Regions from separate parts of the Homo sapiens genome. Here all the other regions are linked to region 1. The links are contacts of gene promoters, found by promoter capture Hi-C in human tissues and cell types (Jung and others, 2019). All regions are on one chromosome and are shown on one strand. The core of a region is centred on a gene start or on the middle of the fragment in contact, and the rest is flanking DNA. Distances in the headings are between cores, read along the strand shown. Region 1 holds the start of SNTG1 (syntrophin gamma 1). Region 2 has its middle 250 kb from the start of SNTG1. Region 3 overlaps SNTG1 (syntrophin gamma 1).

Evidence for each region. Contacts are between HindIII fragments. The study calls those that stand out against the background at their distance.
Region 2: a fragment that was not itself captured here is called in contact with the fragment with the promoter of SNTG1 in region 1 in 2 of the 25 tissues and cell types used here (IMR-90 fibroblasts and spleen).
Region 3: a contact is called between a fragment that was not itself captured here and the fragment with the promoter of SNTG1 in region 1, in 2 of the 25 tissues and cell types used here (dorsolateral prefrontal cortex and hippocampus).

What each region holds. Positions count from the first base shown.
Region 1 is chr8:49,909,731-49,913,617 of GRCh38, reverse strand. SNTG1 (syntrophin gamma 1) reads right to left here and starts at 2,211. Exons shown (of 19, transcript NM_018967.5): 1 at 1,387-2,211. RefSeq lists an enhancer at 2,362-3,306. The HindIII fragment of the contact is 7,737 bases long and covers 1-3,887 here.
Region 2 is chr8:49,658,109-49,661,995 of GRCh38, reverse strand. No RefSeq gene overlaps it. Among named protein-coding and RNA genes, the nearest start is that of SNTG1, 250 kb to the left of the region's middle. The HindIII fragment of the contact is 3,269 bases long and covers 90-3,358 here.
Region 3 is chr8:50,139,104-50,142,990 of GRCh38, reverse strand. The region is part of intron 1 of SNTG1 (syntrophin gamma 1); the gene reads right to left. Among named protein-coding and RNA genes, the nearest start is that of SNTG1, 230 kb to the right of the region's middle. The HindIII fragment of the contact is 3,401 bases long and covers 1-3,302 here.

The DNA.
Region 1 (3,887 bases), core at 962-3,461:
CATTCTTGACCTATATAGGGCAACGGAGCCCCCAAGGAGCTCAGTGACATAGATGCCTCTGCTCCTTTTCTGCTAAGCAAGCAGGTTCATGGTAAGTGGTGACAGTTAAGAATGATTTTTCCTCAGAGTAATTGCTACACTCAGCCAACATAAAACAAGAGGACATCACCCCACCAATGAATGCCACTGTAACGGCCTCCAATGATTTTTGTGTTAAAATTGAGAAGGAAGGTACGTATAGATATGCATTAGAGCCATTTTACTATCGTTACACACAACCAGTGAAATTAAAAGTAAAACCTAAAGATCTCCTGTAATTTTTCAAAGGGGTAGACTCTTTTCACAGAGTTGATTATGAATATCTCATCACATGTATTTACATGACTGTAAAATTCCATCCTTGCAAGTCAAAACTCTTCACTGAACTGAATGTACTCATTGGAATTGATCGGATTCTTAGTGAAATGTCAGGCACGGGTTACAAATTTGTGTAACTGCTTTTGCCCAGTGAACCCTTTTTATTAAAGCAGAATGCTTATCAAGGTCACTGTGAAAGATTGTAATTTTAAAGCTCCAGGGGAAAACTAGAAATAAGAATCAACAGAAAACAGATTTAATTAGCATTTTAAAGTTTATGGTTTTTCGGGAACCTACTGGTCCCTATCACTTTCTGGATTTCACTGACAAATGTATTTTGCAGAACTAATAAGTTAGAATGATTTTGAAATCCAGCTCTCCTAAAGAGGCACACTAAAGCTTCTCATTTTCTGCTTTCTGGCAGATCAGGTTTGAGAAAGCAATCTTGAGCTTTCAAAGGCTGGAAAGAGGGTGCTAAGTAAAAATATGAGTGTCTCCTTACGTAAGATCCTACAGGTGTAGGTATACTTGGAGGTTGGCATGGAGTGAGAAATCTGGTGTATATGTATACATGTATTTGTTCCCATGCATAGTTTAGTATATTATAACAATATAAAATATGTTAGAGGGCATGGTTAAACCCTCTCTATTTTAACTTTTTTAGTCTTGCATACTATGTAACACAGACAGGATCACTTTTTATGGCATACATAAGACAACAAAATTATCTTGCCAAACGATTGCATTAGTTTTGGGAAAAAATAAACAAGATATGCCAGATCCAAAAAGATATTAGATAAGCAATAAGAAAAATGGCCAGCTAAAAGTTTACTGTAATTATGTAAGGCAACATGTATGTTATTTTGATTCTTCTTGTCACACAATGATCCAGAAACAATTATTTTAAAACAAAATTGCTTGTCTCCTCGTTAACCCCAGAAAAAATTACACTGCTTATGATCTTTCTGTTAAACCATAAGACAAGTCATTAGAATTTTAAAAAACAAAAATAATAGCGCTATCACTTACCTGCCGAGCAATGAAATTAGATGTCTTTTCAGTCTCTCTAACGTAGAATTTTGAGTAGCTCTCCACCCTCTTTTCACAAAGCTATTTCCAAAACAGTTGCAATCCACTCAAGACCATTCTGTTTATTTCAAGAAGTGTGGACCTTTGAGCATTTCAACCCCTACCGCACGGCCCATGATTTCTCAGAGCTTCTAAGAACTTCGACTTTACTCTCCTCCAGAATTCCTCCCAGACCCCTATAGAAAAATGATTCTTGAAGTTGCTGCTGAGAGTTTAATCTGTGGAGCAAGAGTACTCCTCAGAGTCCTGTCCTTAGGTACAGCAGGTGTAGAGGGAGGGGTACTTTTCATCCATTAAGGAAGGGGGCCGGGAGGCGAGGGGGTAATAGGAGGCACCGCCTTTTAGCTGCGAGGAGCAAGTAGCCCAGCTGCCCGTGGCGACGACAGTGGCGGCAAGGACAGCGGCGGCGGCAGCGTAGTTCCGTCCCTGTGGCTGCAGCTCAGTCCGGAGACGCTGTCCATCCCCTCTGGTGCTGAAGTAAGGGGACGGGAGCCCCTAAGCGCAGGTCCAGGTCGCACTTTCCTCCACCAGCGAATCCAAGCAGCAGCTTCCTTGTCTTCCGCCCTAGCCTTCTCCCCTCCGGTTCTTTTTTTTTTCTTTTTTCTTTCTTTTTTTTTTTTGTAGGGGCTAATTGTTTCTCCAAATTAACAGTCTCATACTTATTTGGTGACAACGTTTCTGGAAAAACAGGAATCCCTGGGAAATAACATCTGAGCCTCCCCTGACTTTTCAGTGGCCCTGCACGAGTTTCCTAATGCCAGAAATGAAAGAAAACGCACGCACAGGGGCGCGCACATACACGCACGAGAGAGGCAGAGAGAGAGAGAGAGGAAGAGAGAGAAAAAATATATAGATTTGTACCGTGGAAAATCCAGAGCTTCTTTGGAAAGCTCGTGGATCTTTAATTACATAAGATGAAAAGGAATATTTTGGAAAACTCCGCAATCTTGATTACCAATTAAGGGGACCACATTCAAATTTTGAGAAACCCAATTTGAAATTCCTAAATTAAACCCAGTGAAGATTCTTAGACCCTCCACGCGGAAACGATAGGTTATTGTTAAAATTTTAAAAGACAGAGAATGAAAGAATGAAAAAGACAGGAAAAAGCATCTGCACTCGGCTACCTTTTAAAACGCTGCTGAATTGGATCGGGATCGTTGCAGAGCCTCTCAGAGGATCCGGCGAACGCAGCTCCTGTGAGTGTCAGCGCTGAGCTCAGCGAGCAGGCAGCTTGGAGGCCCAGGGCAGTGCTAGCGAGTCGCCCACAGCCTAGGCTCCTGCAGTGGGGGCAGAAAACGGCTTATTTCACAAAGGACGGGATAAAGAAGGCACAAAGACAGTCAGAGGGCTCGACAATCTCTGCCTTTGTAAAGCCAGAGCAAAGCCCAATTTACGTTGTTTTTTTTGTTGGCTTTTCAGCCCATTTTCCCTCTGGTCTCCCACGCTGCCCCCTCGCCTCCCTACTCCGGAATCCGCGCTCTCCCGGGCCTTGCAGGCTCTTCACTCCCGCTCTTGGCAACTGGCTGACAACGAGCATAAAGAAGGGTATGGGTGCGTGGTCCCGAGTGCTGTCACCCAGGGCTCAGCCACCCACACTCGGCAACGGGTGCAGACGCCAGTGAACTGAGACGGGAAGTTGAAATACATAACGTTGAAACTGTTGGAAAACTGGTCAAAACCAGGGCCATGTGGACCTTTGAAACTATGTGGAGTAAAAGGGGAAAATGGAAAGAGCGAGACTGTAACACCGCCCGCCCTTGCAGACTCCTAACTTGTGCAGTGTAGATTTCTGCACAAGGAGGTTATTGATAGACATGAGAGGAAATTCGAGAAAGACTGGTGAGGGGCGCTGGTGTGTGTGGTGGGGACGGGGGTCCGGGAGGGGCGGGGCGCAACACTAATTTCTCCCGGGCTGTGGGAAGGGGCCGGACGCCTGCTCCTGGCCTCCCTTCCCCGGCGACTTCTCAGGTTCTTCTTCCTGTTCTGACACTACAGGGAAGTCCTAGACGTTGTGCTTTCCTCCCACGCTTGCTTCCATCAAGGATTAGAGCGCGTTCCCGCTGGTCTGGAACCATCCATTCCAGGTAGGGGATCTTCCCTCCCGGGGACATTGCGCTCTCCAAGCACCGGCCTGCGGCGCGCGCGGGGGACGGGCGAGGAGGCGGCACAGCCAGTGGAGTTCCAGTGGGCTCCCTGGAGGAGAAACGTTACTGAGCCGGGAATCACTCGGGACGGAAAACCAAACAGGCCGCGTATTTACTCACAGGAAAAGGCCAGACTTTGGTTGGACTTTGAGCCATTTTGCTGCAGCAGCAACGGCTTTATTTCCCTGGGGTGGCCACCAGCCGCCACCGCGGCTCGCGAGCTCCGGCTGGAAGGGGCCGCGCTGTGCTCCGCACATTGCAGGCCGCGGTCGCTGTGTGGAGCTGCACACGCAG
Region 2 (3,887 bases), core at 475-2,974, 250 kb after region 1:
ATTGAATCTATAAATTACTTTGGGCAGTATGGCCATTTTCACTATATTGATCCTTCCTATCCATGAACATGCAATGTGTTTCCATTTGTTTGTGTTCTTTTTTATTTCCTTGAGTGGTGGTTTGTAGTTCTCCTTGAAGAGATCCTTCACTTCCCTTGTTAGCTGTATTCCTAGGTGCTTTATTCTCTTTTTAGCAGTTATGAATGGGAGTTCATTTATGACTTGGTTCTCTGCTTGTCTGTTGTTGCCGTATAGGAATGCTTGTGATTTTCTGCACCTTAATTTTGTATACTGAGACTGTATTACAGCTACTTTTAATTGGCCATCTTGGCCCTGATAAATTTCCCTCTTAACACTACCTTAGCTGTATCCCAGAAATTCTTGTATATCGTATCTTTGTGCTTATTAGCTTCAAAGAACTTCTTGATTTCTGCCTTAATTGCATTATTTATCCAAAAGTCAGTCAGGAGCAAGTTATTCAATTTCCATGTAATTGTGTGTAGATTTGAGTGAATTCTCAGTCTTGATTTATAATTTGATTGTGCTGTGGTCTGATTACTATGATTTCAGTTATTTTCCATTCACCAAGGAGTGTTTTGTGTCTGATGATTTGATTGATTTTAGAGTATGTGCCTTGTGGCAATGAGAAGAATGTATATTCTGTTCTTTTTGGGTGGAGAGTTCTGTAGATATCTGTCAGGTCCATCTGACCCAGTGCTGAGTTTAGGTCCTGAAAATTTTTGTTAATTTTCTACCTTAATAATATTTCTAAGCTGTTGTTGGGGTGTTTAAATCTCCCACTATGTGGGAGTCTGTGTCTTTGAAGGTGTCTAAGCATTTGCCTTATGAATCTTGGCACTTCTGTGTTGGGTGCATGTATATTTAGGATAGTTAGGTCTTGTTGAATTGAACCCTTTACCATTATGTAATGTCTTTCTTTGTCTTTTTTGATCTTTGTTGGTATAATGTCTATTTTGTCTGAAATTAGGATTGCAACTCCTGCTTTTCTCTGTTTCTCATTTGCTTGATAGATTTTTCTCCATCTCTTTATTTTGAGCTTATAGGTGTCATTGCACGAGATGGGTCTCTTGAAGACAGCACACCAATGGGTTTTAACTCTATCCAGCTTGCCACTCTGTGCCTTTTAATTTGGGCATTTAGCCCATTTACATTCAGGGTTAATACTGGTTTGTGTGTATTTGATCCTGTTATCCTGATGTTAGCTGGTTATTATGCAGACTTGTTTATGTGGTTGCTTTATAGTGTCACTGGTCTGTGTACTTCACTGTGTTTTTGTAGTGGCTGGTAATGTTCTTTCTTTTCTAGATTTAGTGCTTCTTTCAGTAGCTCTTCTAAGGCAGGTCTGTTGGTAAAAAATTCTTTCAGCATTTGCTTGTCTGAAAAACATTTTTCTCCTTTGTTTATGAAGCTTAGTTTGGCCAGATATAAAATTCTGTGTTGGAATTTCTTTTATTTAAGAATGTTGAATTTTGGCCCCCAATTTATTCTGACTTATAGGGTTACTGCTGAGACATCTGCTGTTAGTCTGATGAACTTTTCTTTGCAGATGACCTGGCTTTTCTCTCTAGCTGCCTTTAACACTTTTTCTTTCATTTTGACCTTGGAAAACCTGATGATTATGTGCCTTCAGGATGAACTTGTTGTGGAGTATCTTACTGGAGTACTATGCATTTCTTGATTTGCATGTTGGTCTCTCCAGCTAGGTTGGGCAAGTTCTTATGGATGATATCCTAAAATATGCTTTCCAAATTGCTTACACCCTCCACATGTCTTTCAGTGACATCAGTGAGTCATAGATTTGGTTTCTGAATTATTCCATACTCCTGGGAGGTTTTGTTTCTTTTCATTCCTTTTCCTTTATTCTTGTCTGACTGTTTAATTCAGAAAGTCAGTCTTTAAGCTCTGAGATGCTTTCCTGACCTGGTCCATTCTGCTGTTAATACTTGTGATTGTATTATGAAATTCTGATAGTGTATTTTTCAGTCTGTCAGGTTTGTTATGTTCTTTTCTCTACTGGCTATTTTGTCTGTCAGCTCCTGCATTGTTTTATTGTGATTCTTAGCTTCCTTGGATTGGGTTTCAATGTATTCCTGCATCTCAATGATATTTTTATATCCATTATCTGAATTCTATTTCCATCATTTCAGCCATCTCAGCCTGGTTCAAAACCCTTGCTGGAGTAGTGGTGCAGTCATTTGAAGAAAAGAAGGCACTCTGGCTTTTTGTGTTGTCAGGGTTCTTGCACTGGTTCTTTATTGTCTTTGTGGGCTTATGTTCCTTCAATCTTTGAGGCTGCTGGCCTTTGGATGTTTTTTTCTTTTATTTTGTTTGATGATTTTGAGGGTTTGATTGTCGTATAAGGTGGATTCAGACAACTGGCTTCATTTCTGGAAAATTTTAGAGGGCTCAGTTCCCAGTTCCTGGACTGCATGCTGTAACTCTGGGGGATTTGTATCAGGCCCTAACTTTGTTCTTTTGCTCCCTGATGTTAGGAATCTACTGCACTGGGTCAGAGGGCAAGGTACCCCTGGACTGCTGGTCACTTCACTCTGATGTGTTGTGTCAGCCAAAGCATTTCATAGTGGCATGACAGTGGGATCTGTACTCATTTGCACATGCCAGTAGCAGCGTCAGTGACAGCACTGTGGGGTGCACGCTCGTTGGCTGCAGCAGAGTACTAGTGCGTGCTGGGGTGCTTGCCTCATTGTGGGTGTTAACCACAGTGGTGAAGGCAATGTGGCTGGGAGGGTGGGGGGCCCCTCCTGGTGACTGTGCATGTGGCTTCACTGGTGGTTGTATTGGCACAGGGGCAAGGTGCTGGTGGGCACAGGTCTGTGCCCATTCTGTGTGTGCTGCAGGAAGGGGTAGTTTTTCAGGGCTGAGGAGGATCTGTTGTTTCTGTGCCTAGTTTAAGTTCCATGGCAGTGTTGGCACAAGGGCAGGGCACTGATGGGGGTGGGGCTGGCTGGCTCTGTGCCTGCCAAGGCTTCAACTGTAATCGTGGTTGGCAGGGAGAGGAGAGTGGACTGCACCCCCACCACAGCAGTGGCAGGGCAGGGTGCATGCACACACTCATGTTGGTGGGGCAAGAAAAGCAAGACTAATCCATGCACACATGCACTGGCAAAGTGATGTCAGGGAGTTGCTTTGGGCCCTGGGATGCTACGGTGTGGGAAAGGAGTGTGCAGGATGCTGCATGGCCATGGGGGCTGCCCCACTGGAGACCTCCGCTAGTGAGGCACAATCCGCCAGCACAAAACCTATGATGCGGGGCCCCAGGGAACCTGAGGCTGCTTTGCAAGCAGTCATGACCAGACTGGGGTCCCAGGTGAGGCTAGCAGGCCAAGGGGAGCTCACGTCAGACTGGCCATATCTGATGGGCAAGCCTTCTCTGCAGAGTTCAGATCCAACAGTTCCCCTGGGACTAAAGTCTCCTATGAGAGCCAGTTGAGCCTAGGGGGATGGCGTCCCTGGCCATGCTTTGCTTCATAACCTTCCTCATTAAACTCTCTGGGCTCTACATTAGCTGGCTTGCTAGCCTTGCCATTTCTCTAAGCAGCACTCCCTGCCAACTCAAGTGCCTGTGGTGGTCAAGGGGTCTCCTCCTGCCAACATTCCAGAGGCCTATGGTGAGAGCAGGTTGCTCCTTGCCAGTTCAACTCATCCTTCCCTCAGAACCACTGGGGACCAGGAATAGTTCCTGGTTCATTGTTGCCTCTTGTGGGCTTCCCAGTTTCCTCCCCCTTCAGCCCAGCTTCTGTGTCTTTCCTCCCTCTACCCTTGATGCCTTCCCTCTGAAGATCTGTTAGGAGTGTGACAGTCATCTCGGTCCTGCAGTGGCAGCTCTTCCACCTGGCCGCGTCTAG
Region 3 (3,887 bases), core at 353-2,852, 230 kb before region 1:
GCGATTCTCATGTCTCAGCCTCCCGAGTAGCTGGGTCTACAGGTGCCCGCCACCAGACCCAGCTAATTTTTTTGTATTTTTAGTAAAGATGGGGTTTCACTATGTTGGCCAGGCTGGTTTCAAACTCCTGACCTCAGGTGATCCACCCGCCTTGGCCTCCCAAAGTGTTGGGATTACAGGTGTAAGCCACCACACTGGTCATGGACTTTATTTTTAATTTGTCTTGCTTTTGCAAAATTTCAGTGAGAGGTTTTAACATGATGAAATACATCCATCAACCTGTATTCATATGCTTGTAACACTTGTATAAAGTAAAAATGCAAGCCATTAGAAAATTTTACTTCATTTACCATCAGCTTCTTTAACAAAACCTTATCTCTTCCTGAATAAACCTAACTACAATGTTATCAACATTCATTTTACTTCTGGTTACCTTTTCTTAAAAAATAAATAAATTCTCTCACTTAACCAACTGCTTGATTCATTCAACCCAAATATATATATATATATATATAATCTTTTTAATTGCAGGTTTGTGTTAAAAAGTAAAAAGCAAAATTTTTATGTTTGCTATGAAATTCCTTGTGAATTCTTCTTCAAGCTCCTACTCTCTTCCTCACTTTTCTTTGTTTATAGCTCCTCTGTTATAAACTTTATGTCCTTGTATTATAAATCATATTATATCCTTCATCTTAACTGTAGTCTGGGTTTCTGTAGAAAACACACAGAGGAATTCATTCTTGTGTTCCCAGATCTTGTAAAATGCCTGTCGTGGGAAGTGTTTAAGAAATGTATGTTTTCTGGCTAAATAACTTTAAAAATGTTTAGATAACAATATTACAGCTATACTATAAAATATCATGAAGCCATAAGAAACAATTAGGTAAACCTACAAACATACACAATTATAGTGACCCAGAAAGAAATGTCATAACATTTAAAGATAAAAAGTAAGTTATAGAAAAATAGAGTGTGAGCTGATTTTGCAATAATAGGTGTCAATATAAATAATTTGTATCTATGTGTGAGTGTGTGTGTAATAGTTATATGCCATTGTAAAGGATGACAAATAATGAAACACACATATATATGCCCAGCTTTTATTTTCTTTTATTTTCAATATTATTAAATTATAAATATACATAATTATGCATTATGAAACCTTAACTGAATCTTTATCATGAGATATGTTATTGGTTCCTTGTGGTCCTCTAATTCTTTCTCTGTAGATCTATCTAGTAGAACATTTATACAACATGTTGTAAGGCATTAAACTTACATTTTCACCCTCCACTAAATTAAGAATTCTCTAAGGTGGATTTCATGTCATTTTGTTGTTGTCATTGCTGTGTATCTTAATGATCACATAGTAACTAATGTGTTTCAGATACTCAAAATGTTCCATTTTAAATGGATAAATAATTATATGGAAGCTTAATTAGCTAACCTTCCTAGCACATGTCCATTTTTGCACATATTCATATCTCTCATTGCAAGCGTTTAGGTAGGTTTGAACCATTAGTAGTCACAATTTTTGTTTATTAATCATTAGGAAAATGCTAATTAAACCCAAGATGTGGAACAATTGCACACCTACTAGAATTCTGGAAATTAAAAACAAAAGTGAAACAAATGAAAAAATGCAGACTAAGGGTTGGCAAGGATGAAGAGCTGAAGCTCTTACAGGTTGCTGGTGGGCATTCAGAGGTATCTTATGAAGTTCAACATGCACTTACCATCTGATGTAGCAATCCTGCACTTACTATCTGATCTGGCAATCCTATTCCCATATATTTAAGTAAGAAAGTTGAAAAGAGACATTCATAGGAAGACCTGCCTAAAACGTGAACAGCAGGCTAATTCATAATCAGCGAAACCTGGAGACTCCATGTATCTTTCAAGTGATCACTGAAGAAACACATTTTCATGCATTCTTACAGAGTTTCTGTTCCAGTGGGTCTGGTGTGGGCCAAATAATTTGAATTTCTATCAAGTTTCCAGGGGATGTTAAAGCCGTTGCTTTGGAAACCAGACAATGAGCACACTGATTTAGAATATAATTAGTAAAGAGCTTAGATGGTTGCTCCCTCAACCTACTTCTTTATAATGGAACCAATGTATACAAGTATTTGTACAATGATGTGTGAGGTGAGATGAAAACAATCTCCCTGTTTCCAAAATGACCATGTTTTAAAGATGATCCAGAAAGATCCTCCCATAAAGAAGGAATGAAGATAGATATGTCAAAATATGAACTTAATGCTTTAAGCATTTAAAATGAAAGACAAGTGAGGTTGGCACTTGGTCTCTGCAGGCCAAGGGGGAGTTTGTATTATGTATGTGCACACACACTCAAAAACACACTCACACCCACCCATCCACATTCAGACTTACATCCACATACTATAAACATTCACACATACACACTAACATGAACATTCTCATACACAGTTTCTAACACTCATACCCACACTGACCACACCACATAAAATACACACACATTCTCGCAAACACACACACTCTTACACCCACATACACATACATAAGGCATATACACACCGTACATACACACTCTCTTTCAGACACACACATGTTCAAGATGAACCAGAATGGGAAATCTGGCTGAGAAAGGAAGCATCACCTTTAGCAGTTCATTAGGCTCAGAAGAAGACTGAACATGGATACAACTGGAAAGATGCAATGCCATGTGTGACAATGTGGGATCCTTCCAGAAACCCTTCTCAACTACAATAACAATAGTGGAATCAGTTGACCCCTCTTTAAATGTTAGATTTCTGTCTCACACTTCTTGATTTCCAGCATCACACAGAACAAAGATTTGCCTCATCAGTGCTTATTGGTTGATTGATTATTTTTTATCAAATAAACTGGGACCTTACAGAACAATATATTATCTTCATGACATTGCAAGTTTCGCGGCCATTTACTCCAGCACTTATTTTAATTTTTGCATTGTTTTCTTTGCAATATAAAACAGAAACACAAAGCTCGCTAGTGACATGTGAAAAGCTTCAGACATCAACTGAATTTGGCAAGACTATTCTAAACTGAACTACATTACTGAGCTATCTGAGTTTACTCATCACTAAGAGTCACTGTGAATCTTTCTGCAAATGTTCTCATCTCCTTTAAATTCCAGTGACTCACTCTTGGCTCTGGTGCTTTGCAATCTTGCCAGGTATCTGGGGAATGTGCACAGTGGGCACATGAAAGATAATTAGCTGTTTCTTCAAATGGCCCAACCGTGGAGTGCATTAAGATAATTCTAGAGTCCCATAAATGTAGAGGGCTCTTTCTTCTTTTCCTTGCTCAATCTCCCAGAGTAGGGCATACTATAACACATCAAATGATGTGTCTTTCTAGTCTTTTAAGTTTTCACTGATGGACTTTTAATAAAATAGTTGGAGTTATTTTAGCATATATTTGGGGATTTTAACTAAGTTGAATGTTGGCAGACATGACACAGGCATTCTGTTTTCTAGGTTAATGACACCGTCTTACATATTGCAGCTCTTCTGGGAGTGCTAGTCAACATGGGTTAAAGCCTAAAAGCTTACACTCTTAGACTACATCCATATTTAGGGTTTACCTAGGCAAATAAGTCATATTTAGAAATTATGCATACAAATATCCACAGCAATTTTAGAGTAAAAAATTGCATGTTCAAATATAAATGATTGGTTACATAAATTGTGATGTGTACATTCAGTACAATATTTTGCTGCAATTAAAAATGTTTTTTAAAATGTTGATAACATAATTTCCCCTGCTATATGCCAAAAGTCAGAATTCATTGTAATCTGAACTATAGGAACATAAATACCCACAGATATACACAAATGTACATAAATATATGCAAATATATG